7 separate regions of the Homo sapiens genome follow, and all the other regions are linked to region 1. Evidence: promoter capture Hi-C in 16 types of primary human blood cells and fetal thymus (Javierre and others, 2016). All regions are on one chromosome and are shown on one strand. Each heading gives the region's core, a stretch centred on a gene start or on the middle of the fragment in contact. The rest is flanking DNA. Distances are from core to core; before and after follow the strand shown. Region 1 holds the start of TEX10 (testis expressed 10). Region 2 overlaps TGFBR1 (transforming growth factor beta receptor 1). Region 3 has its middle 19 kb from the start of ALG2. Region 4 overlaps COL15A1 (collagen type XV alpha 1 chain). Region 5 holds the start of TGFBR1 (transforming growth factor beta receptor 1). Region 6 has its middle 55 kb from the start of ALG2. Region 7 overlaps TGFBR1 (transforming growth factor beta receptor 1).

What was found. The method cuts DNA at HindIII sites, captures the fragments that hold promoters and counts their contacts. A CHiCAGO score of 5 or more calls a contact.
Region 2: a contact is called between a fragment that was not itself captured here and the fragment with the promoter of TEX10 in region 1, in 1 of 17 cell types (total B cells). The highest score is 7.8, in total B cells.
Region 3: a fragment that was not itself captured here is called in contact with the fragment with the promoter of TEX10 in region 1 in 1 of 17 cell types (M2 macrophages); the score reaches 7.6 in M2 macrophages.
Region 4: a fragment that was not itself captured here is called in contact with the fragment with the promoter of TEX10 in region 1 in 1 of 17 cell types (fetal thymus); the score reaches 6.1 in fetal thymus.
Region 5: a contact is called between the fragment with the promoter of TGFBR1 here and the fragment with the promoter of TEX10 in region 1, in 2 of 17 cell types (neutrophils and monocytes). The highest score is 7.8, in neutrophils.
Region 6: a fragment that was not itself captured here is called in contact with the fragment with the promoter of TEX10 in region 1 in 3 of 17 cell types (fetal thymus, M0 macrophages and total B cells); the score reaches 7.8 in fetal thymus.
Region 7: a fragment that was not itself captured here is called in contact with the fragment with the promoter of TEX10 in region 1 in 7 of 17 cell types (total B cells, naive B cells, fetal thymus and 4 more); the score reaches 13.0 in total B cells.

Annotation. Positions count from the first base shown.
Region 1 is chr9:100,350,690-100,354,474 of GRCh38, reverse strand. TEX10 (testis expressed 10) reads left to right here and starts at 1,533. Exons shown (of 15, transcript NM_017746.4): 1 at 1,533-1,703. It overlaps LOC105376177 (a long non-coding RNA gene), which reads right to left and starts at 1,425. Exons shown (of 4, transcript NR_188642.1): 1 at 894-1,425; 2 at 380-478. RefSeq lists enhancers at 1,206-1,840, 2,245-2,294 and a silencer at 1,355-1,904. The HindIII fragment of the contact is 13,255 bases long and covers 1-3,785 here.
Region 2 is chr9:99,130,751-99,134,791 of GRCh38, reverse strand. TGFBR1 (transforming growth factor beta receptor 1) reads right to left here. Exons shown (of 9, transcript NM_004612.4): 3 at 2,053-2,283. Among named protein-coding and RNA genes, the nearest start is that of TGFBR1, 28 kb to the right of the region's middle. The HindIII fragment of the contact is 696 bases long and covers 1,213-1,908 here.
Region 3 is chr9:99,201,207-99,204,915 of GRCh38, reverse strand. No RefSeq gene overlaps it. Among named protein-coding and RNA genes, the nearest start is that of ALG2, 19 kb to the left of the region's middle. RefSeq lists an enhancer at 1,481-1,650. The HindIII fragment of the contact is 5,389 bases long and covers 1-3,709 here.
Region 4 is chr9:98,999,992-99,004,118 of GRCh38, reverse strand. COL15A1 (collagen type XV alpha 1 chain) reads right to left here. Exons shown (of 42, transcript NM_001855.5): 7 at 3,168-3,280; 8 at 532-666. Among named protein-coding and RNA genes, the nearest start is that of COL15A1-AS1, 57 kb to the right of the region's middle. The HindIII fragment of the contact is 1,710 bases long and covers 1,240-2,949 here.
Region 5 is chr9:99,103,413-99,107,183 of GRCh38, reverse strand. TGFBR1 (transforming growth factor beta receptor 1) reads right to left here and starts at 2,071. Exons shown (of 9, transcript NM_004612.4): 1 at 1,882-2,071. The coding sequence starts at 1,978. RefSeq lists silencers at 1,344-1,853, 1,944-2,543. The HindIII fragment of the contact is 12,693 bases long and covers 1-3,771 here.
Region 6 is chr9:99,164,657-99,168,652 of GRCh38, reverse strand. No RefSeq gene overlaps it. Among named protein-coding and RNA genes, the nearest start is that of ALG2, 55 kb to the left of the region's middle. RefSeq lists an enhancer at 1,212-1,506. The HindIII fragment of the contact is 3,039 bases long and covers 855-3,893 here.
Region 7 is chr9:99,147,582-99,151,495 of GRCh38, reverse strand. It overlaps TGFBR1 (transforming growth factor beta receptor 1), which reads right to left. Exons shown (of 9, transcript NM_004612.4): 8 at 3,712-3,842; 9 at 1-2,316. The coding sequence ends at 2,191. Among named protein-coding and RNA genes, the nearest start is that of TGFBR1, 44 kb to the right of the region's middle. The HindIII fragment of the contact is 187 bases long and covers 1,274-1,460 here.

The sequences.
Region 1 (3,785 bases), core at 284-2,783:
CAGCCTAAGGGAAGGCCCTAGAAAGGACTCTGGGTTTTACTCGAAGTGAAATAGGGAGCCATTAAAGGGTTTTGAGCCAAAGAGTGATCTGATCTAACCTAGATCTTAAAATAATCACACAGCTGCTCTGCTGATACCAGACTGTAGGGGGAAGAAGGACAATAAGGGAAGCAGGAAGATGTGTTTGCAGGCTTTTTGCAGTGATCAAGAAGCGGCTTGGACCAGAATGGTAGCAGGGGAGGTGTGTTAACTGGTGAAAGTTAGGATGTCTTTAAAGGTAGAGTCAATCTCCAGATGGATTAGATGTGAGGTGTGGAACAAAGAGGCCAAACCAAAAACCCAAAGGTTTCTGCTTGAGTAACTGCAAGGACAGACTTACTATTTGAGATGAATAAGCTGTAGGAAGAGTAGATTTCAAGGGGAAAATCATCAGTAGCTCTGTTTTGGACAAGTTGACCTTGAGATGTATACTGGATATCTGAAGGAAACATTGAAAAAACTGTTGGATACAAGTTTGGAGTTCCAGGGACTTGTCTGGTTGGCAATAAATCTTTCCTCTTCTGATCTAGTCTCATAGCTTTAAACAGAATATAATGCCACATAATGCCAATGACTCCCAAATATTTATGGTTATGGTCGATTCCAGGCAGATTGTGGTGATGTGGCCATATTGCCAGCAAAGGGAGGTCAGGGTTTCTAGCGCTGCCTCTTTATCTCCGATTATGGAACAGGCATGGTTTTAGTTCCAGTGCTTGGGTCTCCCTGGATTTAGACATCATTCCTTTGAATTCCCACCCAATATAATGAGGGTCAATATCTTCGCTAGCTTTACTAAGTCTTAATTATCTGGTGAGGTGTAGACACAAATTTGAATCAAGGTCTGAAGTCCTTACCTGGGGCTCTTTCTTCCATGCCATCATGCCAGTCTTTGTGAAGACATTTTTCAAAGGCTCATTCTTCTTACCTCTTTTCTAGGAATTTTAGTTTATTTCTTTACTTAACTTCAGAAATTAATTTCTCACTTCATTTTAGTAGCAGGAATGTTAGTGCTGAGAAACTGAGATGTTAGGGAGAATCCTTGACCAAGACTTCCAGGCTCTAGATACTAGGTGTGTCTTGCTCTAATTAAGGAAATCTTATCTGCTCCATCTTAGCCCAGTTTAACGTCCCCAGGAATTCCATCTTCTGCAGTCCTAAACTTTTCCCTTTTTCAATTCAGTGCAACTTATACTCTTCTCTGAAAGTGGCTCCAGGTCTGAAGAACTGTGGTCTGGGAGGAATAGAAAAGCATGCTCAGCTATAACCAGGCCCACATCCCCTAAGTTGCCTGCCCACCAAGTTACGGGCCGGACTTATGCGCCACGCTTTGTCCGGGGACCTCGCGCTGTCCTCCCTCCGGTTCCCACAGAGCAGGGGGCTTCCGGCGGGGTACCCTCCTCTGTGGGCGGGGCCTACCGCTCCCGCTCCCGCCTCCCCGGTTGCGCGCGGCTGCGGGCTGCGATCACGTGAGCACAGCAGGGAGGGGGAGGGGCCCTGATTTCCGGGCGGCGGAAGGAGACGCGGCCGCGTGAGGACGAGGCTATTTGAAAACACGCTCCGGGAGCTAGAGCCTGAGGTCGGCGGCGCACGCTGTTGCCCCGTGGGCTTCTGCTCCCTCGCTTGTCTTCTCGGGCTTCTCGCCCCGGCCGCGGCCGGGTCCTCAGGTAAGCGGCCGTCGCCCGTCGGGCCGGGTCCTCCCGGGGCGCGGGACTGAGCGTGGTGGGGCCGTCGCCCCCCGATCCGCGGCCCAAGCGGGCAGGGTCGGCCGTGCACGATTTGCGTCCCCCGGGTCTGGGCCGCGGCGTCCCTCCGAGCTGGGCCTGGGTGTGCGGCCGGCACTGCGGGGGCGGGACCCCCTAGGGCGTTTGCGGAGCTTCAGGTGACTGGGCGGGTTCGCCTGGTTTCGGGTCCGAGAGAGTTTTAGCCCGGAGTGTGTGAATCGGGCCCCACTTCCCCGACTCTGGTCCTGGCCGGCGTCCCTTGGAGTAGGAGGAACGATGGTTTCCTAAAACCCATGGTGTGTTCGCCTCTGGGATGGATGCAGGACCGAATACGGAGTGGGGATGAGCTGGCGTCCCCTGTTCCGTCCTCTGGTCGCCCAGGCGGGAGAGTTAAGCGAGCGGAAGGGGACTACCAGTTTTCTGGGGTCGCCCCTGCCTGGGCCATTTGCTTTTTGGGAAGTCTGTCGCCTCTGGTTGGCCCCTCAGTGGAGTTTGGAGGAACTCATGAGTTTAAGGGTTTGGGGAGGAAATTATCAAAGGCCGAGTGCAGTACGATCGTTCTCTCTGATTTTTTTTGGAAAAGAAGGTGGAAATGAGGAAGGGTAAGAAGGTGGCAGGCAAACTATTTATAGTTGGAATTTAGTTCGATTGAAATCCTAAAAACGCTAGGATCTGCCTTTTGTTGGAATTAGAAAAGACCTACAGTAGGAATGTGTGACATTCAGCTTTGAAACTATTGGGGATCGCAAACCTAAGGACTAGTGATGTGAGCTCCTCCTCTGAGACTGGCGTTCCTACCTTTTGCTAAAAACCGGCTACTGTAAAAGTGGCTTAGTGGGACTTTTTGATTTGCTGTGTTATGAAAATCTTTGTTATAAGTTAAAGTCAATTACTAGTAGAACTTTGAGAGTTCTTCGCATGAAAATGCTTTGTATCCCGTAATAATATTACTAGGTTTGAAAAGTCAAGGAAGGTCAATCAGCCTTCTTAATTTTCCTAACAGAGAAAGCATTAATGTGACTAATACAAAGCGATAGATAATATGGCATGAAGTTGACAGTAGACTGTTGAAGATCTATCAGGTGGTTAATGGCTAAATAGAACCCACAGGAGTGGAGGAGGAAGGGAGTTAATTTTTCTGAATGTCCTGTACCATTTACTTTCGTGTCTAGTACCAGCTAGTAATAAAATTGTAGGAAAAGCTCACAAAGTGTGCTTGCTTAATTAATGAAAACCATTTTTGTATTAAAAGAGGCCAGGTGAGTATCATGGCCTTCTTTTTAGGCCTTATTCCCTCCCACCCACCCACCCACCGACCCCCAGCTTTTTTTTTTGTTTTGTTTTGTTTTTTAAGACTAAGGTAACTAGAGGTGTGGGTGAGATGAAAATTTGGTAATAGGGACAAATGAAATAAGCCAAACTGTTTTGCCACGAAGACTTCCAGTCTTCAGGTTAATTCTGGTATGTTAAAGGTGGTTTTGCAGAGCTCAGTTCTGTGAATGAATCCCTTTTCAACTTCTTGATAAAGGCGTGACTTCCAAACTTTTCTGAGGTACATTGTTAAAATGGGTTTAGTTCCACCTACCTTGCATGGTTCTGTGCAGATTGTATACTGAGGTACACAATGCATCTAGTACCGGGCTTGGTATGTCCTGATCCTGAGACTTGAGGGACACGCACATGTTTATGCTTTGAGCATACGTATTTAACCATGTACCAGGCACAGTTCTGAGTGTTTTACAATTGTGTATGATTATCCCTATTTTGTAGATAGAAATTGGGACAGTGTACAGCTGGAAGGCGTCAGAGTTTGGATAAAAGCCTAATCAATCTGGTTGTAGAATTGGTTCTTAACCTGTGGGAAATCCTACCTCATGGCGATCTAATATAACCCTGTAATTAAGTAAATTTGGATATATTGTCATAGCTGATTGGCTTCTGAATTCCTTGAACTTGAGCTGTTCAGTATTGCACTGGCCATTTTATTAATATTGTAATAAAGGAAACTTTCGTTTTACCCATTTT
Region 2 (4,041 bases), core at 311-2,810, 1.2 Mb after region 1:
ATTATTCCATTGTTTCTCATGTTTATATCTTAAAAGGTTAATGAAGATATTCTTATCCAGTAATCAACTGCCACCCACCCACCAATTCCTTTAATCAGTTAGGTGGGCTTATTCCACTGTGGCAAGTGGCATGAGTGCTGTGTCTTTCCGGAGTATAAGTTTAGAAACAAGAGAACAGGTTTGAGGGATTAATTCCAAATATCTGTAGCCATCCTGATTTTCTGTGACTCTGGTCCTTGATTATCACAGTTTTGAGCAGGATGACTTCCAGAATGAGCAAAATCTTTTTGAAGATCTGAACTGAGAATAAATGGGAAGTCCCAGGAAAGCTCTAAAATAACCTCTGTCCACCAGGCCTGCCTAAAGACTATCACACCTTCAGTACTAAGACTGCTTCATCTAAGTCCAAACTCTCATTGTCTTCCTTGCACAACTGTTTCAGGAATCCCTAAGCTTGCCTTCTGGGACGTGAGCTCCAGTGCGAGCCTGTGTGTGTCCTAGTAGTCAAGGAGAGAGCTCTCTTATTGAATACATATGGCCAAATTCTATAGAAGAATAATTCAGGTAATAAAATCAGTTTCTTCATTCTTAAATGAATGGATATGCATACATACCAATATATATTCATTTCCTTAAAATAAATAGACATTTGTCATTATATGAGCTTTCTGCAACATTAGATGTGATTTTATGCTTCAGAATTATATTCTTACCCAGTCACAACTTCTGCTTTAACATTCCTTTAATATCACTCAATTATAAAATTAGTGAAAATTTTTTTTTTTTTTTTTTTTTAGATGGAGTCTGTTTCCCAGGCTGGAGTGCAGTGGTGCGATCTCAGCTAACTGCAACCTCCACCCCCCAGGTTCAGGTGATTCTCCTGTCTCGGCCTCCCGAGTAGCTGGGACTACAGGCGCATGCCACTACGCCCGGCTAATTTTTTTGCATTTTTAATAGAGATGGGCTTTCACCAAAATTAGTGAAATTTTCATTATATACGCTTTACAAATTTTCACTTTATTCATGAATTTAGCCCTTATTTGAAGATGACTCATACTTTTCAAAGGATAGTACATCTCATTTAAAAGTCTTAACAAACCACTTGAAGTGTTTTTATCAACAGTATGGGTTCCATATTTTTGATGAGGAAACAGAAGCCCAAAGAGGAAACATGTTCTAACCAAGGTTATACAGCCAATCAATGACAAAGCTTGCCTTGAAACCTAGATCTATTTATTCTTCACCAAGTGTCAAATTCTAAAAACACAGGGGATAGGAGTGTTCCTCTCTTAATATTTTTCCAAACCACATGCAAGAAAAAGTAAAAGATAACCCCCTTTCAGTTTAAACATGAAGCACTGCTATGCCAAAATCCACCTTGGGATGACTCTGACAATTAGCTCATCTACTTCTGATGCCACAAATATCAACAAATAGAACTGAGAAAAGAAAACGTCATTAGGGGCCAAAACTACATTAAATAAGAAGGTGGTTAGACATTTTTCTCAAGTGAGAAAATGACATAAGAGTTCATTAGTTTAATTTTAAAAAACCAGGCCTATACGAAAGACAATTTCATATAATGTTTAAAAAGTAAATAACCTTCACAATTCTGAATACATTTCTGTCATGCCTGTTTTCAAATGTAAACATCAAGCTGCTAAACAATCCTGAATAGAATGGGTTAGCTGCAGATCATGTGAATATCTTTGACCTTCAGCTTCATCTATATGAGAATAATTGTTCTTATCCTTTCTACCTCACAGTGATGAAAAGCAAATTAGATTATACAAGTGAGAACGCTTTGAAATTTATACCACCATGGAGCTGACTTATTGATTCGCTTTAACAGTTAAAGTTAAGTTCCAATCTATTTTAAACCAGCCACAGTCATATATACATCAAGCTTAAAGATTTTTATTAGGTTCAAACCTGCAATATTATTTATACTATCTCACATTCTAGCAAGTTGGCTTATTAGAAAACTAATAAAATAAGTATCGCTTAATTTTAAAAAGATGTCTTAGGAAAAAGGAGAAACAATTATGTTACCTGAGCCAGAACCTGACGTTGTCATATCATAAATTAAGTCTTTCAACGTAGTACCCTCTGAAATAAAAGGGCGATCTAATGAAGGGTCCTCTTCATTTGGCACTCGATGGTGAATGACAGTGCGGTTGTGGCAGATATAGACCATCAACATGAGTGAGATGCAGACGAAGCACACTGGTCCAGCAATGACAGCTGCCAGTTCCACAGGACCAAGGCCAGGTGATGACTTTACTGAAAAAGGGCCTCGAGTGAAATAAACATCAACAACGACAAAAACACTGTAGGTGGCAACCCCCATTTTCCCAATCCTACACAATTCCTGCAGCTGGCCACTGCCACCACTTAGCCAAAGAGCCTCATTACAGCAGTTTACAGGGCTCAAACCCAGAACAAGTGAATCAGTCTTCTCCCACTAGGCCTCCTTTTATGCACACCAGCTCTGTCAGCACCCACTTACTCCTGTATTCTTCAGCCATCATTACAAGGCCAACTGCCGCCAATATCATAGGACCTTCCCCACTTATCACATCAGGTCACTAATACCAATAACCTGTAACAATACCTATTAACATCTCCTTAAAAATCATATTTTTTTTAATGTTTGGCTTGTCTTCTTGTTCCAAGGCCAGTACATGCTCATAGCAAGAAAAACAACAACAAAAAAAACAACAAAATATCAAAACAAGCGAAAAAAAAAACCACATACATCTTCATCACTTCTAAACAACTCACATTTCAGTATATATCTCTCCACCAATTTTTTTTTTTTTTGAGATGGATTTTCACTCTTGTTGCCCAGGCTGGAGTACAGTGGTATGATGTTGGCTCACTGCAACCTCCGCCTCCCGGGTTCAAGCGATTCTCCTGCCTGAGCCTCCCAAGTAGCTGGGATTACAGGCATGTGCCACCACACCTGGCTAATTTTTGTATCTTAATAGAGACGGGGTTTCACCATGTTGCTCAGGCTGGTCTCGAACCCCTAACCTCAAGTGATCCACCTACCTTGGCTTCCCAAAGTGCTGGGATTACAGGCATGAGCCATGCCCGGCCAATAGGTCCACCAATTTTTTAAAGGCAGAACATATCTTTTACTTTTTTTTTTTAACAGAGTTTGCATATATATACTTTTTATACTATCTTAACCTCCTGGACTTTTAAGTCCAGATCATTTTCTTGTAACTTCTATTAATAATTAAGATTTTCTGGTTGTTTCAGAAAATTACAATTATTTTGACATTCATCCTGAGTCTTACTGGTTTACTGCTTACCACCATTTCTTTCATATCACATCTTTCCCATTCTTAAGATCTTCAGTAGATTAATCTCTTATCATACAGAATCCTATTTCTAGTAATTTCTTTCAGGAAGAGTCCATGCACCCTTGTACACTGAACTTAGTTGTGGCAAGAAGGCTGTTGCCTTTGTATATGAAAAATCTTGGCCTATTTCAAGAATTTTAGGTGATCGTAAAAATGTTCCATTTGCCCTTTGATATTTAAGCAGAAAATCTGAACCTGTTTTTTTTTTTCACCTTTTACAGGTAACCAATGTTTATGTGTGTTAAATGCTTATATAATTCTTTTATTCTTGAAATTGATACTTTTTATTATATGTGTTTGGATTAATATTTTTTCATTAATTTTGCCTGGTATTCTGTCTTCTTTATGATTTCATGCCTTTTTCTGGAATTCTGATAATAAGCATATTGGATCATCTAAATCTGTTCCCTATATCTCTTAATATGCTCACCAACTGTCTTTTCTCTGAATTGTAACACAGTTTCTTAAAACTTGTCCCAAACTTGACTATAAAATTATGGCATCCAGTCTGTTGTTCGCTCTCAATAGTGCATTTTTAAAAACATTCATCAGTTGGGCTTTTCTTCTGAAAGCAACCTTTAACAACTGTGAAATGTTCTCATTTCATAGTGAATAACTGAAAATAGACCCTGTACTGTTTGAAAGTTCTTCCCTATCATGTGGTAAACCT
Region 3 (3,709 bases), core at 725-3,224, 1.2 Mb after region 1:
AGATTTTTTAAAATAATAATAAAAATAAAAATAGAGATACCATACAATCCAGCAATCCCACTACTGGCTATTTATCCAAAGGAAAGGAAATCTGGGCCAGGCTCAGTGGCTCATGCCTGTAATCCCAGCACTTTGGGAGGCTGAGGCCGGTGGATCACCTGAGGTCAGGAGTTCGAGACCAGCCTGACCAACATGGTGAAACCCCGTCTCAACTAAAAATAAAAAAGTTAGCTGGGCTTGGTGGCATGCACCTATAGTCCCAGCTACTCCGGAGGCTGAGACAGGAGAATCACTTGAACCCAGGAGGTGGAGGTTGCAGTGAGCCAAGATGGCTCAACTGCACTCCAGCCTGGGCAACAGATCAAGACTCTGTCCCCCCAAAAATAAATAAATAAATAAAGGAAAGGAACTCAGTATGTCAAAGGAATACATGCACCCCCTTGTTTATTGCAGAACTATCCATAATAGCAAAGATATGAAGTCTTTGAAACATGTCCATTAACAGATGAATGGATGAAGAAAATGTGGTGTATATATTCAAAATGACATACTATTCAGCCATAAAAAAGCATGAAGTCCTGTCATTTGCAGCAACATGGATGGAACTGGAAGTCATTATGTTAGGTGAAATAAGCCAGGCATAGACAGACAAATACGTTCTCACTTATATGTGGGCACTAAAAAAGTTGATCTCAGCTGGGTGGGCTGGCTCACACCTGTAATCACAGCACTTTGGGCGGTCGAGGTGGGTGGATCACCTGAGGTCACGAGTTTGAGACCAGCCTGTCCAACATGGTGAAACCCCGTCTCTACTAAAAATACAAAAAAATTAGCCGGGCGTGGTGGCGGGTGCCTATAATCCCAGCTGCTCAGGAGGCTGAGGCAAGAGAATCGCTTGAACCCAGGAGGCGGAGGTTGCAGTGAGCCGAGATCCTGCCATTGCACTCCAGCCTGGGCAACAGAGCGAGACTCGGTCTCAAAAAAAAAAAAAAGAAAAGAAAAGAAAAGAAAATTGATCTCATGGAGATAAAGTAGAAAAATAGTTACCAGAGGCTGGGAGGGGGTCGGAGGGTTGAAGAGAGGTTGGTTAATGGATACAAATATACAGTTAGATTGAAGAAATAAGTTCTAATGTTCAATAGCAGAGTAGGGTGATTATAGTTAACAACAATGTATTGTATATTTCAAATTAGCTAGAAGATAACCTGAAATGTTCCCAACACCAAGAAATGGTAAATACTCAAGATGGTGAATACCCCAAATACCCTGACTTGATCATTACACATTGTATGCATGCAACAAAATGTCATGTTACACTGTCAATATGTACAAATATTGTGTGTCAATAAATTTATTTTTAAACTTACCCTCAAGAGGTCCTTGCAGGCAAATCATGCCTTCTCACATACCTTTCACTCGTTGCTTCTACTTCCACAATAAATCTTACTCATATATATTTAGGACCTACCCTGTGCATAGCACTGAAGATAAAGAAATGAAATTAGCAGTTTAATACTCTTTGACTTACATAATTCTGCATTGTTCAATACTAATATCCTCAGACCTGACTTTCTCTTTGTTCACGTTAAATAATCATATTTTACCCATATTTTAATTTTGAATATTTTTTGGTTTGTCTAATAAATAGAGAAATCTTAGATTTAGTGTTTTTTCTTATAGTATTGGTTTTTAATATTTTATTAAAGATTACTGAGGTTGCTCTTATTACACCTGTGTGTGTATATACACACACACATATATATACACACATATATACTCACACACACATATATATACACATATATACAGACCTGTATATATGTACACACACATATATACACACCTGTATATGTGTACACTGTATGTATCTACACACACAAGTGTAATACATATATACATAATATATATGTGTATATGTGTATATATTCTTTGTACCATCCTTTTTTTTCTTAAAAAGGACACTTGCTTTCCCTTCTGATTTTCTTCATTCTTCTGCTATTCATTGATGTATTTCATTATCCCATTATTTCAATATAAATAATTTCTTTCAAATATTTTAATTTTTTTATTTCAAGTTTGATAATATATTTGCCGCAGTTGTTTGGACTTACTTCAGTACAATCAACTGGTCTCACTGGTTTCTACCTTAGATTCATTGTTCCCTTTCTATGGAACACATCTTTGAATAACATTTTTTCAGAGAGAATATATGCATTTGTATAATTCCCATTGTCTTGCATATAAATAGCTTGATTATATATAAAATTCTTGAGTCACATGTTTTTCTTTCAAAACTTTGTAAATGTTTACCTTCTAGAGCTGCTTTTCCTATAATATGTTCCAAGGAAAATAAGCTGTAAAAAATGCTTCAGGAAAAAGGGCTCCATGGTTATATAACTATAGGAAAACTTCCATTCCTATAGGAAAGGTACATTTTCTATCAGAAATGTACCAGGGAAAGTAGCATACTATAGGCCATGAGCTCTCCTGAGGTAATGAAAATGGATTAATTTTATTTCCAGTGTATCCAAGCTACTTGACCACAGTAATACTGAGAGAAAGCAAATGACCAACAATACAGTAACAGGTAACATCTTTTCAGCATGTACTATGCACTAGGCACTGTTCTAGCACTTAGTCTGTGTACATTATCTGATTTAATCCTCACAATAGTTCTAGATGGGTGGTAGAATTTTTCAATCTGTTTTAACAAATGAGGAAACAGAGGCACAAATAACTTAAGAAAATGAGCTAGAAAATGCTGAAGCTAAATTGAAACCCAAGTAGTTAGCTCCTGAACCATTATTCATATCCTTAAGAGTTGGCAGGGAAGGGCAATAAAGGCAACTTCTATATCTTTCCTAAGCCTGAAAAACACAGCGAAACATCTAATTGTACCAGAAAAGAAAGGGAACTTTCCACCAACCAGAAGTACACTCTGCTAGACTGTCCTAGAATTTGCTGCTGAATTATGGCACAGGCACTTTGGGGGGTAATCTGATGATCATCCATGCAAGTGCTCAACCTCTGCTGTTGGCCAACATCCAGGACCCATCATTGAATACTCATCACCTCATCAATTCATCCTCCTCAACTGACGGGCAAAACAACATCCAAATATTCATTGCACATCTGTGCCGGGCAGATTATACATTAGCAATTCAAATCTGGCCGGTGTGCTGGCTGTTCCTGCAAATGCGTCTGTTTGGGTGAGATGCCTTGTTGTCTGGGATGGATAATAAGGCAACTCGGTCTAATCTTGAAGAACAATCAACCCATCTTGTGAAGGTGACTGGCTGTGTGTGTTCTTGCCCTGGCAGCATTGGAACAATGGCCCCATAATGCACTCGACTCAGCTGGCAATGAAGTCCCATCCTGATTAGTAGCCGTGGCTGGTGTCAATCACCACAGGATGCATCATTGTCCCCTGGTCCCCAACACAGTTTATTTACAGGAAAACAAAGGCTTTGGGGGGCCATGGCTGCTTCCCAGAGATTGCAAAATAGATTGAGCTGTCAAGCACACAAAGTAGATGAAGATTAATGAGTTGTGCGGACAATAAATATGAAGAGATGACCATGAATATGCTAATGGGCATTATCCATATACACTGTAATTGCTACCAAAATTAAAAGGTGGCATGAAGAAGATGGGTCACAGGGTGACAGGGAGATAATCTTGGATGCTTGAGACACTCACTCAAGATAAG
Region 4 (4,127 bases), core at 845-3,344, 1.4 Mb after region 1:
TCCAGCCATTTCTCCCCGACCCCTGGCTCACGCTTGACCCCACAGGTATGCTGCCCTTCTTCAGGCTTCAGGCCTTTGCTCCTGCCAGCCCACCTTGCTGAAACACCTGTTCCACCCCCTCTGCTAGGCGACTTCTACTTACCCTCTCAGGCCCGCCTTCAGCATCCTTTCCCCAGGAAACTTCTGTGCCCCCGAGTCTGGGCTCTGGGCCCCTTTTTCAGTGCTCCCAGGGCATCCTGTGCTTCACCTACCACTGACCACAGCCCCTCTTACCACCCTGTCTTCAGGAATCACGTCTATCCTATTTACTATCCATCCCTGAAACCAGGCCTAGTGCCCAGCACAGTGTAGGGCTCTGCACACCGCCACTGAATGGGTCAATGCTATTTAGTGCTTACTCCGACAGACTGCCCCCATGAGACTGTCACTGTGTTTCACAGACACATAGGGAAAGCCAGTGACTGCTCCCACCCAACACAACCCACAACCCCAGACACAGGTGAAGGGGAGCTTGCGCTCTGAGCTACTTACTGGAGTGACCCCTTCCTCTGGGTTCTCCGTGGACATAGAGAGGGTTGGTCCCCCGGTGGGCACACTGCTGGCCTCTGCTTCTCCAGCAGTGCTGATGGGCACCTCGGCCAGCCCCGCTGCTGTTGCTGCTAAATTCTGAAAACAAAGGCATCACAAGAGACCATGTCTCTGGGCTCCCATCAACATGCCTGTGGCTGGTGAGAACAGACTGCCTAGCCTTCTCCAGCCACCTGCATTTCTGTAGCTTCTTTCTCTCAAGGACTTTCACATCTATGGTTTCATAAATCCAGGGATGGGAAAGACTGCCCAGGCACCTATGTCTGGTGTTTGATTCCCAGTATTGGTTTGCACCTCCATTAACACGGAAATCACTGCTCCTGAGTCAGCCTGGTCTAGCTCTAGATACTTCTACTGAAACCCATTGCCTCCCTGTGACCTCCCCATGTACCCATCCAGAAGGCATTAGACAATGTCTTTGCCCATGAAGATGCTTCAGAAATGTGTAGGCAGCACCTCTGTCCTCCTCAGCCTTCTCTAGGCTGGGAGACAGAGACATTCCTGCTTCTTCTCTCTCCCTGTGACTCAGTTTCCTTTGGGAATGCACAGGCAGATTCTCTGAAGGTTTCATAGCAATGGGAGAAATGGAAAGAGAGAGCAGCTTTGGGGCTGGTGACAGCAAACTATGTTCTATCTTCATTTCCCAAAGCTTGTTTATTTATTGCAAAAATGTGGTTCTTTTGGTTACAAAAAACACCAGGCTAATCAAAGTTAAAAAGATTTCCTTGCTGCAGGATTTCTCAGAATCTATAAAAAGAGGAATGTAGAGTGCAGCATTTCCCAAAGTCATTTGACCACAGAGCCCCTTTTTCATAAAATATATTAAATCCTTGCAGAATTACTGTCTCAAAAAACAGTTAGAGGAAAGTTGAGGTCCCAGGATGTTAAAATGAGACTCTTTCTAACTCAGCGTCAGCTAAAGCCCCAAAGGGCAAGTGCAATTTCACAGGCATCAGGTAATCTCCCCATGCTAAAACAAGGAAATGGCACCCGTTCTACCAGCTCCTGCCCATCTCCTACCTCTAGGCTGTGTAAGAAACCATACAGGACTCATTTTGGGGTTGAGTGCCTGGAGAGCAAGAATTCCTTTGGAAAGAATTTTCAGTGTACTGCGGTTCTTCTCCTCCCCTCTACTCACTCCAAACCATTTGGTGAGCTGGGTATGTATTTCCTGGAATTTGGGAGGCTCAGGGACTGGTGTCTGATTTTCTCCAGGGAGACAAAAGGTGAAAGGAGGGAGCCCTTTAGATTCAGAGTTGGGAGAGAGGGACAAAGGAAGAGAGGGGAAGGGGAGAGGAGAGGAGGGGGAGGTGAGGGAGAAAGAGAAAAGGAGGGAAGTGGGAAGAGGAGGGGAGGGGAGAAAAGGGGAGAGGAGAGGAGAGGAGAGGAAGGGAGGGAATAAAAGGAGAGAGGAGGGAAGGAGGAGGTGAGAGGGAAAGGGGAGAGGAGGGGAGGGGGATGGAGAAGGGAGGGGTATTTGTCCTGCAGTTGTTTTGCTGGAGATAGACAAGATAAAATCTCTCCAAAGGGAGCTGGCTGAAATGGGCTGTACTCAAAGAGCCACGCAGAAGATCTGGGCAACCTGTATGGGGTGGAAGCCCGGGCAGAAGTTACAAGGCAAACTATGGAATTTTGATCCTAGGTCCCCTGCAGGAAGACCTCCCAGGAACCACAAAAGCCCCCATAAGAGAGAGTTCCAACAATCAGGCATCTTCCACACCAAAAGCCCAGATCACAATTTGACCAGCCAAGTACAACTGTGTCCATTTCTCCAGGTGGGCCAGCCCCTGCAGATGTTAAAAATAGCTCTAGAGGATGGGGAGATCATGAGGATAAGGAGGAGAGAGAAGTAAGAAAATAGAGAGGAAACCCCTAACCATGCTTCCCTTTCCTGGCAGTTTCCTAGTCTACAGTAGGCCTGAGTATAGAAGGGGGGAAACTGTGTTTGTAATTTTGTTGAATTTTTGATATTATGCTGGGCTTGACTTTTAAATATCTGTGAAAATTGACTGTTACCAGATAGTGACTGAGAGAGCTGTGAGAACTGTCTTAAGTTTTCATCCCAGGAGAAGGGAAGGAATGAGCTGGCGTTGTGGGTTTTCAGCAGGGGCCATTGTGAGAAAACTATTTATGCTTTAATTTTGCACCCTAGGGAGCCCAGCATTTCAAAAACTGGCTTTGCAGGTGTAAAAGCCAATTACCAAACAATAGCATGAACACACCTGCAGTTAATCTGATTCTGTCTTGAAGGGGACTCAAAGGGCTGATAAAGCTATGTGCCTTCACAACTGAGCAGGAGGGCGGGGTTGCATTGGTGAGGCCTGGACGCTCGCTCATCACAGGCAAGTGTGAGGACAAGCTTGCACTGCATATCCCCCACCAGTCCTGTGCATCCCTGGAGAGCCTCTGTGGCCCTGGGACTCTGACCTCCTCTGTACCATGAGGACAGAAGCAATCTTGATGCTATTCAACCAAAACCCTTGTGGTTCTCTCTGGTGCTCAGTAAAATCATCACCAAGTTTGAAATAAGCAAACAAGCCTACTACTGACTAATCAAATGAAATTTACCATCTACTCACCTTTTCTTCAGCAATGTCAAGGAAGGCCCCAGCCCCTGAGCCGCTGTCAGTAATGGGGTCACCATCCACAGAATGAACCCCCTCCAGTGTGTCATTCAGGATCTCACCAGACCCTACAGGAAGCAGGCATTCTGCTATCAATAACTACATTTTGCAGTCTTGGAAAAGAATGAGGTATCTCTTCACCAGCTAACTTGGAAAGATGTTCAGATACCATGACACAGGGTCAAGAGGGGGAAAAAACAAGTTGCAGAACAACATACATGGCAAAGCATGTGTGGTTTCCATTCCAGGCTCTGGCACCACCTGCAGGCAAGTCGCTCAACTTCTGCCTCAAGTTCCTTATCTAGAAATGGGGAATTACAATAATTCCTACCTCATAGGGTTGTTTTGAGTACTGTGTGTCACAAGGACTAAGTAAGTTAATGCAAATAAAGCATTGAGGACAGCCCCTGGCATATAGTAAGCAATTGATAAATGTTCATTGTTGATATGGTTTTACGTGTGTAAAATAGAAAAAAAAAGTATGAGTATAGATATCGTATCATTATTATATATATAACATATTCATGTTATGTAATAATGATTATGACATACATAATATATACATATATGTATATGTATATGTATATGTATGTGCTTATATATTTATATACTTGGCTAAACCACAGTGTTTAGTACTGATATTTTCCAGAAGATAGGAGTGTAAGAAGAGGAAACTATTATTTTTCTGGTTTATACAACTGAGCATTAATTTAATTGTTCCCACATGCATATATTTCTTTTGCAATTTAAAAAGCAGCCCGGAATCCCAGCACTTTGGGAGGCCGAGGTGGGCAGATCACTTGAGGTCAGGAGTTCAAGACCAGCCTGGCCAACATGGTGAAACCCCATCTCTACTAAAAATACAAAAATTAGCCAGGTGTGATTCCACATGCCTGTAACCCCAGCTACTTGGGA
Region 5 (3,771 bases), core at 822-3,321, 1.2 Mb after region 1:
TTAGAGTAATAAGCACCTGGACAGCTTTGTATTTTGTGCATACCATGGAGACTGTAAACTCCTCCAGGACATGGACTGAGCAATGTTCTGTGTCTTCAACTAAGTCCACTACTGTTACTTGAATACATGAACGCTTCTTGTGCTACTTCTGGTGGAAAAGAGTGCACTGTGTTATTCAAGTTAATAGCGGTGTGGAAATGTTACCTGTGTTTCATGCCTAACTATACTGATTCTCCCAAATGTCCACACAGTTATCCTGCCTTCCTCCCTAGGCCAATGTCAAAAATCCATTGTTTCCTCTAATGCAGGCCCACGTGAAGGGACTCAACAATGTGCTAAGAGTCGGAATGAAGCCTATCTGATACTCAAATCATGAGGACAGAATCCAAAGTGGATAATAAAGACCAATTGCTCATCAGACGACTGAAGAAGAAAAATGGGCTACGCCAGATAGTATGATGTATACATATTTATATATATATATGACATACAGGTTTGGGAAACTGAGATCTGAGTGAAAATCCTAGCTTTAGCACTTAAGTTATTGGGTACTTAACGTGTCTGTACCCCACTTTGCACATCTGTAAAGTGGGGCAAATGCCACTACTCCTGGGAGTTTACTTGTGGTGATTAAATAATGTAATTATACAATAGTGTATGCATTTACATCGTAGTAATGCACAATACATAGACGGTAGCTATTAGGACTGATTATAATCGTCACCGTCAGTCTTGATTTTTTAAAAAAATTTCAACATCTTTTGTCCAGTTTCAGAAACAGAAATGTACTTTCACTGCATTTTAGTTGCTAACACTGAGGCTGTGTATTTTAGCTTCTAGTGTCTCAGTTCAGCTGCTAACGAAGTTTTTCACTCATCCCTTTGTGGATACCAACCACCTACCCCAACCTGATTTACTATTTTGAAAAATCCAGCCAACAGTCTTCCTTGAAAACCAGCTATACAGATGTCTGAATCAAACTATTAACTGTCACTCAAGAAAAGGAACAACGTGAGTGATGTTCCTTCGAGGAAATAAAAAGCGTTTAATCAATTCACAGTCGTTCCCAAAATTTCCAAAACCCGCAGAATGAGCAAACGTTCAAGTTTCCACTATGAAAACAATCCGTAGCCGTCTGGTTACTGGACTCACTTCAACACTCCCCAGACGCACGAAAGAAGAAACATTCCGCGCATCTCCGCGCTTCCTTCTTCTCACACAAAGCCCCCCTGGCTGGAGGAGCAGCCCCTTCCAGCAGGGTCGGCTCGGGTCGAGCCGGGCGGGAGTCAGGGCGGCCTGCGGACCCAGGGGTCTCACCACACGTCGCCCCCGACTCCCACTGGACGAAGCCCTAGAGGCTCGGAGCTCACACCCCGCCCGGGAGCCGCCTTCCACCCCAACCTCAAACCCCGCCCCGGGTTCGGCAGCCTCTGGCACGGACCCTCTTGGGGCGGGGGTCCCCAGAACAAGGTCACGCCGTGCCCAGGGGGCGGCGGCGGGCAGCCACGGCTCTGCCAGTCCCCGCCGGCCTCGCACTCTCCGCCCCTGGCCCTCGCCCACTCACACCCCAGAGGGCAGCCCCGGACCTCGGACGACTCCGCCCGACTCCACCTCCCCGGGGAGTCCCGAGCGGGGCGGCCTCGGGCAGCCGGACACGTCCGCCCGCGCCCGGACACACGCCCCTGCCCCGCCTCCGCTCCCCGCTTGCGGTTCGCCCGGCAGCCGCCGAGCCGCGCGGCGCCACGAGAGCCCGGCCCGGGCCCCGGCGCCGCCACCTGCGCCCCCGGCCCCGCGCCATGTTTGAGAAAGAGCAGGAGCGAGCCAGAGGCCGGGTCCGGCCCGCGCGCCCCGCAGTCGCCCGCCCGCCGCGCCGCCGCTCACCCGTCGCCCCCGGGAGCAGCGCCGCCGCCGCCGCCGCCGCCGCCGCCAGCACGAGGAGGAGCAGCCGGGGACGCGGAGCAGCGACCGCCGCCTCCATGGTCCCGCCGCCACCGCCTGTGGCCCGGCCCGGCCCGGCCGCGCCGCTGCCTCACCCCAGCAAACCTCGCCTCGCCCCACCTCCCTAGCCGCCGCGGCGGCCTCGCTCCGGCCCTTTGTAACTGCTCGGAGGACGCGCGTCCATTGGCTGCCGGGCTCCCGCCGGCCCCGCCTCCCCGCCGCCGCGAGCTGCCAAGCGGGACCCAGCCGGGAGCCCCGCCTGCGGGCCCGCCAGGCAGCCAATCCGCAGCCGCGAGCGCCGGTTTCTGGCCACGCCCCACGCTCCCCGGGGGCTGGGCCGCCAGACCCCAGCCCCGGCCCGATCGGCTCCCGGCTCCGAGAGGCCGCGTGGGGGCGGGGTCTGCCAGCCCCAGCACCGCTCAGCCGCTAGCCCCGGAGGGCCGGGTAGAGCGATGGGTGTGTCTGTGTGAGTCTCTTTCGGAAAAAGGCTGTGGCCGTTCGACGCTCTTTTCTTCTAACCTCCTCTAGGCGCGGAAGATCTGGTACTGCCTCAGCCCCACCCTGACCCCATTCACAGCTCCGCATTGGCAATCCCAGCACATGCCACCCAGATCCGCTGCAGCGCCAGGCCCCTGCATCCACTTCAACTTCCCCTCTCCAAGTCCACGCATCAACTTCAGCATTCCCCCGAAGATCCCTCCTCAGTGCCCTTCACATGCGACTCACTCTCCTATTTCCTCCTGCTCCCAGCGGTCACCCCAAACCCAGCTCCCCCACCCAGTTCCAAACCCAGAAAGTCCTCAGATCCCAGCGTCAGACCCAGATCCTGAGCCCAAACACACCCCCAAATAGCCTCCCGCCTCCCTCCAGCACAGATCCAGGATGGGGATCCAAGCCGCACTCCTCTCAAACCCCTTCCCGATCCAGGTTGGAAAGGGAGGATCCCCACCCCAACCCCTCAAAGGAGGGGTTCCCCCTTCTTAGCACCCAGCTCCCGCGGGGCGGAGGGGGAGCAGTCATCATTACTTTGAGCTGTGTCTGACACTGCTGTATAATAATCCTGAGGTGTCACTAAAAACCCAAATAAACTCTACGTTTTCATTCTGAATTCCTAATTTACTGCGAGACGCTCCACCCACCTTCCCTCTGCGACGCCAAAATGAGCTCCAGATTTGTAATTCTTCCTGTCAGACTAGTCCTTTCTTCAGACACAAACACAGCCAAGGAGGCTGTTACGTAGAACAGAGAATATTTTTCCGCAGAACCTTTTAAGGAGGAAATTTTATTTTCTGTGTCATTTGAGCTTAGAATTAAATAAACCTTGATAGCAGGAATCAGAATGGTTCTGATTAATGCCAATTTGTGCACTACTTTAGAGTCACTGGGTGAGCATTTTCCCCACCTGTGAAGGCTTCCTTCCGGGAGATGAAAAGGGAAAAGGCGTGGATATTGGAGCTGGGATCTGAGACCCGCGCGCTTTCTCCCTCCTGTCTAGGACACTTACTTAAGCAAGTCAGCTAACCTTTCTGAACCTCCAACAGGCTCAGAGGCCTGCAACTTGCTCTACACCGCAGCTCCAGCAGCCTCAGCAGCAAACTCCCCTCTTGCTCAGGCTGAGGGATTCCAGAGAGATGGCTTCTGGCAGGCTCCAGTCCCAATTTGCCCTCTCAGTTCCAGTTTCTTCAATGGAGATTTGGTGGACTTTGTGCCACCTGAGGTCCCTAGACTGCCTTTTTGCTGCTCTATTTGCAATGTCTTTCATAAGATAAGAGCTAATGAGATTTTTATTGTATGAATGAATGAATGATCTCAGAAAGTGACTGTTTTTCTCTG
Region 6 (3,996 bases), core at 1,125-3,624, 1.2 Mb after region 1:
TGTGTGTATGAGAGAGAGAAGGAAAAACAGACAGACAGACATTGCCACCTTGGACAGGGAGGCTATCTAGAGTGGACGGTATGAGTTTTGAGCTAGGCAGGATTCAGACAAGCAGAGGAGTAAGGACATTTGGTGATATTATGATGGCCAAGGCCGCACAAGAGATGGTCATCTGTAGCATCTCCCAGCTCTAAGACTCACCCCATTCCCCCTCCCACACATACACCTTTTCCTTCCCCTGCCAACCTGAGTGGATTTCAGACTTCTCCCTCCCTTTTAGAAAGAGTAGAATTTGGTGGAGATACTGTCCAATCTACTGTGCTTTTCTCTTACAACATCAGTTCAGGGCATTGGACCCAGGATGGGAACGTGGCTGTTGGGGAGAAGATGAGCAGAGAGGAAAGAGGCCATTACAGAGACCGTCAGCAATCAGCTTCATTCTTTAGGAGACATCCACATCCAGGGCTTCCAGAGGCCATGGCAGGGCTGGGTCAAGCCCTCCTGGGGGAGGAGGGGGATCCCCTGGACATCCGCCTGGAGTACCAACCCCTGTCACTCAGAGACCCCAGAAAGATGAAAAACGGGGTGGAAAATGCATTGGAATTGTTTACAGGGAGGCTATTCTGTGGCTAGAACATTTCAATAAACCTCTTTTTTAGGGGGGAAGGGGTAAGAAGGCGCTGAGGGTTGTGCTTGAGTAATAAACTGCCTCAGAGGAAAGCGGGTTCAGTAGCTGCAGGGTTTGTGGTTTGCTAGGAGGTGGTGTATATTTGGAGAGAGAGCTCACCTTGTCAGCAAGAAAAGGAGAAGCTGAGCTGAGGGCCATTACCAGCAATCCTCCTCCAAACCAAGCTTGGCCTCTTTAAAGTGTAGCTGTTTGGTACAGCATCATTTATGTGAAAATGGAGAGGGGGCTACATGCATGGTTGGATATATGTGTTTATGTACATATGAATGCATTCATGCATGCATGCCTGTATGCATTTGTTAGTTTATGCATGAAATATCCCTGGAAGAATCCAGCAATATGGTTACATTGGTTGCCTCCAGGAAGGTGAGCTGAATAGCCCAGAGATTATATCAATTAGCAGACAGACTAGGCTGTCTGTCATAAGAAGTGACCCCAAAATGCAAGGCTTAAACAAGATAGCATTTCAATTCTGTCTCACAAAGCAGGGCAGGTATAATGGTGACGAAGTGTCAGGGACCCAGGATCATTCCATTGTGTGGCTCTGCCATCACTACAGTGTTGCCTTCCTCTGCAGGGAGGAGGATGGCTCACCATCACCTCTGCAATCCAGCCAATAAGAAAGGGGGAGTAAAGAAAGTGAAAGGCACATCCACGCCCTCTAGGAGAGCCACTGAACGTTAAGCACATGGCCTCCACTCACCTCCCACTGGCCAGAACTCAGTGACTTGGACACAACTAGGAAACGCCCTCCTTAGCTGAGCATTCATGAGTATAGCTAAAATTGGAGATTTTGTTTCTAAAGAAAGAAGGGCAGAATAAATATAAGAGGACAACCTGTAGTCTTTATCTGGGATAGGATGAAAGGGACATTTTCACTTTATATATCCTTTTAGTACCTTTAAAAATTTTTTCCTGTACCCTCTTGATAGACCTTTCAGTATCTTCTGAACCATGTGAATTAGGAAAAAAAATTAAGTTTGAAAAATATATTAGTTTGGAAGTCACAAATTGAGCACATGCATCCACCTCTCCACTACACCATGGATCCATGGGGATAAAATATATTTTTTAAAGAGTGAAATCAGATCAGTGCTGGAAAGCAAGACAGGGTGCCAGCAGATGAGAAAGTCTGAGAAAATACTGGAAGCTAGAAAGTAGATGGGATTGGCTGGGTGCGGTGGCTCACACTTGTAATCCCAGCACTTTGGGAAGCCAAGATGGGCGGATCACCTGAGGTCAGGAGTTCAAGACCAGCCTGGCCAACATGGTGAAACCCCATCTCTGCGAAAAATACAAAATTAGGTGTGGTGGCGCATGCCTATAATCCCAGCTACTTGGGAGGCTGAGGCATGAGAATTGCTTGAACCCAGGAGGCGGAGGTTGCAGTGAGCCCAGATGGTGCCACTGCACTCTAGCCTGGGCAACACAGCAAGACTCTGTCTCAAAAAAAAAAAAAAAAAAGAAAAGAAAAGAAAAGAAAAAGTAGATGGGATCAGATCAACTGAGAAAGTACAAAGGTAAACCACAGCCCCAAACACCAGTACCAAGAACTTTCCTTCTCAAGGGAGCCCTAGAGAAACCCCAAACTCAGAAACAAGAGACAGAAAGCAAGAGTAGACCATAGGATAACCATCAGAGTAACTGAGCAAAGAGCTGCATTCACAGTGGCTGGGACATTCGGGGCCCCTCCCTTCTCCCTTCCCCTGCTCAACATATGCTCAACCCGTAAAGGAACAACTAGTGGTAATTTTGCCCTTTGGGTACCTAGGACCCAATCATTATTCTTAAAAAATGTGGGTGATCTATCCAGGAAGGGATCCTAATATAGGTGTCTAAAGTCAAGAGAGAAGCAGAACAAGAACAGGGTTGGAAGTCTATGTAGGCCTCCCCAACAAATATATATGGCAAGTTTGGGTTGAGAGGGTGTATTACTCCATTCTCACGCTGCTAATAAAGACATACCCGAGACTGGGTAACTTATAAAGAAAAGAGATTTAAATGACTCACAGTTTAGCATGGCTGGGGAGGCCTCAGAAAACTTACAATCATGGCGGAAGGGGAAGAAAATACGTCCTTCCTCACCTGGTGGCAAGAGAGAAAATGAGTGCTAAGTGAAGGGGGAAGCCCCTGTAACTATCAGGTCTCATGAGAACTCACTCACTATCACGAGAACAGCACCGAGGGAAACCGCCCCCATGATTCAATTACCTCCAACCAGGTACCTCCCAGGACACGAGGGGATTATGGGATTACAATTCAAGATGAGATCTGGGTGGAGACATAAAGCCAAACCATATCAGAAGGCATGGAGGGGTGGTAGAAAGTCCTCTGTCCAAAAGGAAATTATAGCTAAATACTCCAGTCCGTTATTTAAATACCTCCTTACCTTGGCAGGCGTGGGCATCCCAGGCTGCCTGCTGCAATCTAGAGGTGAGCCTGCTGACAATATGGCCCAGCCACTCAAGGGGACCTGAACTGGCCCTCCCCTTCCAGGGAGACGCCTCTTGTGAAAGCAGGCCACACCAGCTATCCATACAGATTAATCTAATCCTTCATTTAGGAAAGTCGACGGAGAGCCATGGAGCCCCAAATATTTGAGGAAAACCAATAGCACAACCAAGTTGAACAAACATGAGTAAACACAACGTCATCCTGGAAAAAAAAAACAAGATGAAGTAGGTAATGTTAAAGATAAAACCCTAATTAGTATCTCTGGAGAGATGTGAGAGAATGAAATCTCCAAAACAAGAGCCAGCTGCCGTAAAAAAGGAGCCATCGGAGAACAAGAAATAATTTCTAGAAATGTAAAATAAGGGTCAAAATTTTAAAAATTCAGCAAACAGGAATAATAGAATGGCCAAGACCAAAAGCCAGAGCAGTTGTGTGGAAGTCAATGAAATCTCCAGAAATACAGAAAAAAGTCAGCATAGTAAAAACTAAAAGTCTAGAAACAGGAAAGCTCCAGGAGGCTAGCATCCATCAATTCAGTAGGAGTTTCAGAAGGTAAGAAAAAAAATCAGAGAGGTGGTGGGGGATAAAGTCAAAGACATAATAGAAAGTTTCCCTGAGCTGGGAAAAAATACAAGTCCTCAGATTGAAAGAGGCCACTAAGTACCAAGCAGGATAAATGAAAACAAAACCCATACCTAGATATTTTTAGAAATTTCAGAACCCCAAGAAGAATGAGAAAGGCTTAAAAGCTTGAATATTAGAAATGAGAATTTAATTAATTTCAGACTTCCCATCAGAAATGCTTTAAAAATCATGCCTTTAAAACTCCAGTGGAGGCTGGGTATGGTGGCTCA
Region 7 (3,914 bases), core at 118-2,617, 1.2 Mb after region 1:
AATAGTTTTAGTGATAAAATGCATTGGTCCCCTGGATTTCATAAAGCAGATCTGGTAGGCTTAGAAATGGCCCAAAAACAACAACAAAAAAAAAAAAACAAAAAAAAAACCCCCACAAAAAAAGTACCTGATCACAGAATTAGAGATTATTATTAAACAAGTAATACAACACAACTATAAAAACAAACCTCTCAAACTCATTCATTTGCTTCAATGAAATTATGGTAACTACAGAAAAAAACTCAACTTTGTAGTCAAAATAGTAACCTCTAAGCATTTTTCCCATGATGTTTTTAAACACATGAAATTGACACTAAATTCCTATGTAATATGTCACTCATTCTAAAATTACTTTGGTTTTAAGATCAAATAGTCTTTCAAATTTATTCTACGTATAAGAGATAAGACATTATCAGAATGCAACTCATTCAGTGTAAATGGCCACTTTCTCTTCCTGACCAAAATACTGTATGGGTTACTCTGACCCTGTATCGGGGAACTGATAGCACTATAAAGTCGAAGTCTTGCCTCAGAGCTATGATAGTTTTTTCTCCCCTCAGAATAAGATCACAGTGATAAAAGGACTTCGAAAACTGTAAAAGCCCTGCAGAGACTTCATAGCATTGGAAGTAAAAACCAGTTATTATAAGCTAGTTTCAACTTAATGTAAGAAGACCATGACAAGTTTGCTTTCAATATTTGACCAAAGACATCTGTAAATGGAGAAAAACCTATACTCAGAATGTTCTTTAGCTACCACCTCTCCCAAGTAACAAGGGTGCACTGAATGCATTACATAAATTACATGTAAGCAGTTGCAATGTACGCACACATAAGGAAACACTGAATTAAAAGCTGCCTTCCTCAAAGTGTAGTGAGACCTCAAAACCACACTAGCTCTAACCTCAGTTACAAAGACAGAGGATCCACCGAACGTTTACTCCTACATACATAACAAATGTGACTTTCTTGCACATCTGTTATCTATTCAAATTATTAACTACCTTCGCCTTCCTAGAAAAAGGCCTATTATTTAATATTAACCATATTCTAATTTTAAATGTAATTCATGTCTTAAAAAATAAGTCTTTGAACAGATAAAGAAAAAAATGGCTTACAGAATACCACATAACTTTTCACAAGCAGCTAGACAGACTTTCCCTTTTAGAAAAATTAGTCTGTATGCTACAAATATTAAAGTACTATAAGCATCTAGAGTGCCACTTGATTTTTTAAAAGTATACTTAGACAACACAATTAAAATGCAAAAGCTTGATGTGAGAATATTCAAACATGACCATGCTAATAATTTACTAATTAATGCCACTTCATTTCTTTAGTGGCTTAAGCACATTTTGGTAGGAGAAAGGCATTTTCAGAATAGAATACCAAATGACATACCACAAAAACCCTTCCAAAAACAAAACAGAAAAAGTTTGGGTTACCCAGATAAATAAGCTTTTTGAATTCAAACACTATAGGTTTTAACATAGAGACTTTCAGCAATTCTACTCATTTCCATTAGAAAGACACAGAAGTGGCACTTACTGGTATAGTACAATCCCATTTTGAAGGCATGTAATGTTCTGAATAAGTGAAAGAACAATAATAGTATACAAAATACAATTGCATGAATTATGTTCCTCACTACTATATGAGGTCATTTTTAGACTCAAGATAAGAGTTTTATAAGTGTTAGTTTTAAGATCCTGAAAAACTATAGAACAGTACATTCAAAGTCTGAATCAAGGAAACTCTAGTGGTTCAGAATCCTCTGAGAATGTACTAACCAGGAGTAAATCACTTTCTTTAGTAATAAGACATGTTTCATTGTAATTCAGCAATCCAACTCCTTTGCCCTTAAAGATGATCTCCAGCACAGCAGAGTTACCTAAAGTTAAGACCAGCAATCATCTTTTTAAAAAACAAGTTTTGTTAATAAAAAATAAAGGTAGACTACACATTTTCTGTCCTGGGAAAGAAGCGTTCATAGTGCACAGAAAGGACCCACATGGCTGTTTCCTGGGTCCAAAGAAATCCTGGGAAGTTTTTAATTGACTTTATTACACTGCTGCAAAAGGAAGCAATATCCTTCTGTTCCCTCTCAGTGAGGTAGAACAATTGACCTCCCAAATTAAAACCCAGGAGCAGATCTGAAGAAAAAAGGAGAGTTCAGGCAAAGCTGTAGAATTACATTTTGATGCCTTCCTGTTGACTGAGTTGCGATAATGTTTTCTTAATCCGCAATGCTGTAAGCCTAGCTGCTCCATTGGCATACCAACATTCTCTCATAATTTTAGCCATTACTCTCAAGGCCTACAAGAAAATATAAAAAAAAAAATTAATGCATGCACCATTTTCCATTGGTCTGGATAAGAATTTTTACGTGTAAATTTTCTTTTTAAATGACATATACACTTGTTATTGTTTAAGCATTATTTGTAATAGCAAATGAGTAGAAATTACATAAATTTCCATCAATAGGGTACTGGTGCCAGTGCTGGAAAGCAGGTGGACAAAGAGTGACTCATTTAGCAAACCTGAAAAGGCCGAATCCTAAACCAGAGCTGGGCAAAGCAAAGAAGAAATCTGACCTCACACTGAAATTTTAAGTTTGTACTTTGAAGTATTCACATCAAATTTTTCTTTCTTTTTTTTTTTTTTGAGACAGGGTCTCACTCTGCCGCCCAAAGTGGAATGCAATGGCATGCCCTCAGCTCACTGCAGCCTTGACCTCCCAGGCTCCAGCAATCCTCCCACTTCAGCCTCCCAAGTAGATCAAATTTCTAAAAGACAAAATCTAGCAGCACTCTCATTTATTAAACTATGTCACATGCAAATTCCTTAAGCATGCTGAAATACATTTTATTTATTTGGGCCTGGAGATGTGATTTTGTTGGAGGTAGCAAGCTCTCTTGCTTATCAGAGGTTCTGCTGAGTCCTACAATAGTTTAAGACGTAAAATCAACTACTGAACTGAACAGCTTTTTATAGCCTTTTTAAGCTACAAATCTTCAAACCTGGAGGAATATGCTCTGCTTCACCAATATTGTAATAGTAACAGCTAGCAATTAAGGAGAGGTTAAATAAAATTCATCTTACGAATCTTTAAATTTACAATTACAAAAACGTTTCTAAAACTTTTTGTTAGAGCTGAAGTTGAGCAGCTCAGATACTGCTGGAAAAAAGCATTTTCCCTAAATTCCTGGTTAACGGTTATCTGGGCAATCAGATGAATAAAACGGAAAATCATTTGAAACACCTTTGTAATCACCTTATCTGAGTTCCTCACCTTGCAAAGGGATATTAAAGTCCAGAGAACTAAAGGGATTTGTTCAGAGTCAGACCCTTGAAATGGTAGCCAGGCTGGTCTAGAATACAGGGCTCCTCATTCATGTCCGGTAACTGTCTAGTGTTCTGGGTTGCCCCGGCTGAAGGGAGGCATTCATTTAAAAATATGTGCCTTAGTTCGCCCGGCAGATCTAAACTATGTTCTGATACACTAAAGGCCACTGCAAATGTTCCATGGCCCTTTCAATGTGCTTACAATTGAATATGAAAACCAAATTATTCTGTTTTTAAACATTGGTTTGACTGCTATGAAAAAGAAAATTCTTAAAGAAAAGTTTTCCTTAAAGAAAAGTAGCAAACTTTTGCTTACTAAGCAGAAGCAGTTTAGAAAATTGCCTAATATCAAAAAGAAATACTCACTTCACAGCTCTGCCATCTGTTTGGGATATTTGGCCTTAACTTCTGTTCACAAACAACTTTTCTCATTTCTTCAACTGATGGGTCAGAAGGTACAAGATCATAATAAGGCAGTTGGTAATCTTCATGAATTCCTGTATCAGTTTAAAAAAAATTAAATTTTGATGAATTTATTCAGCTAATGCCAAGGCATTAAAAGATCACCT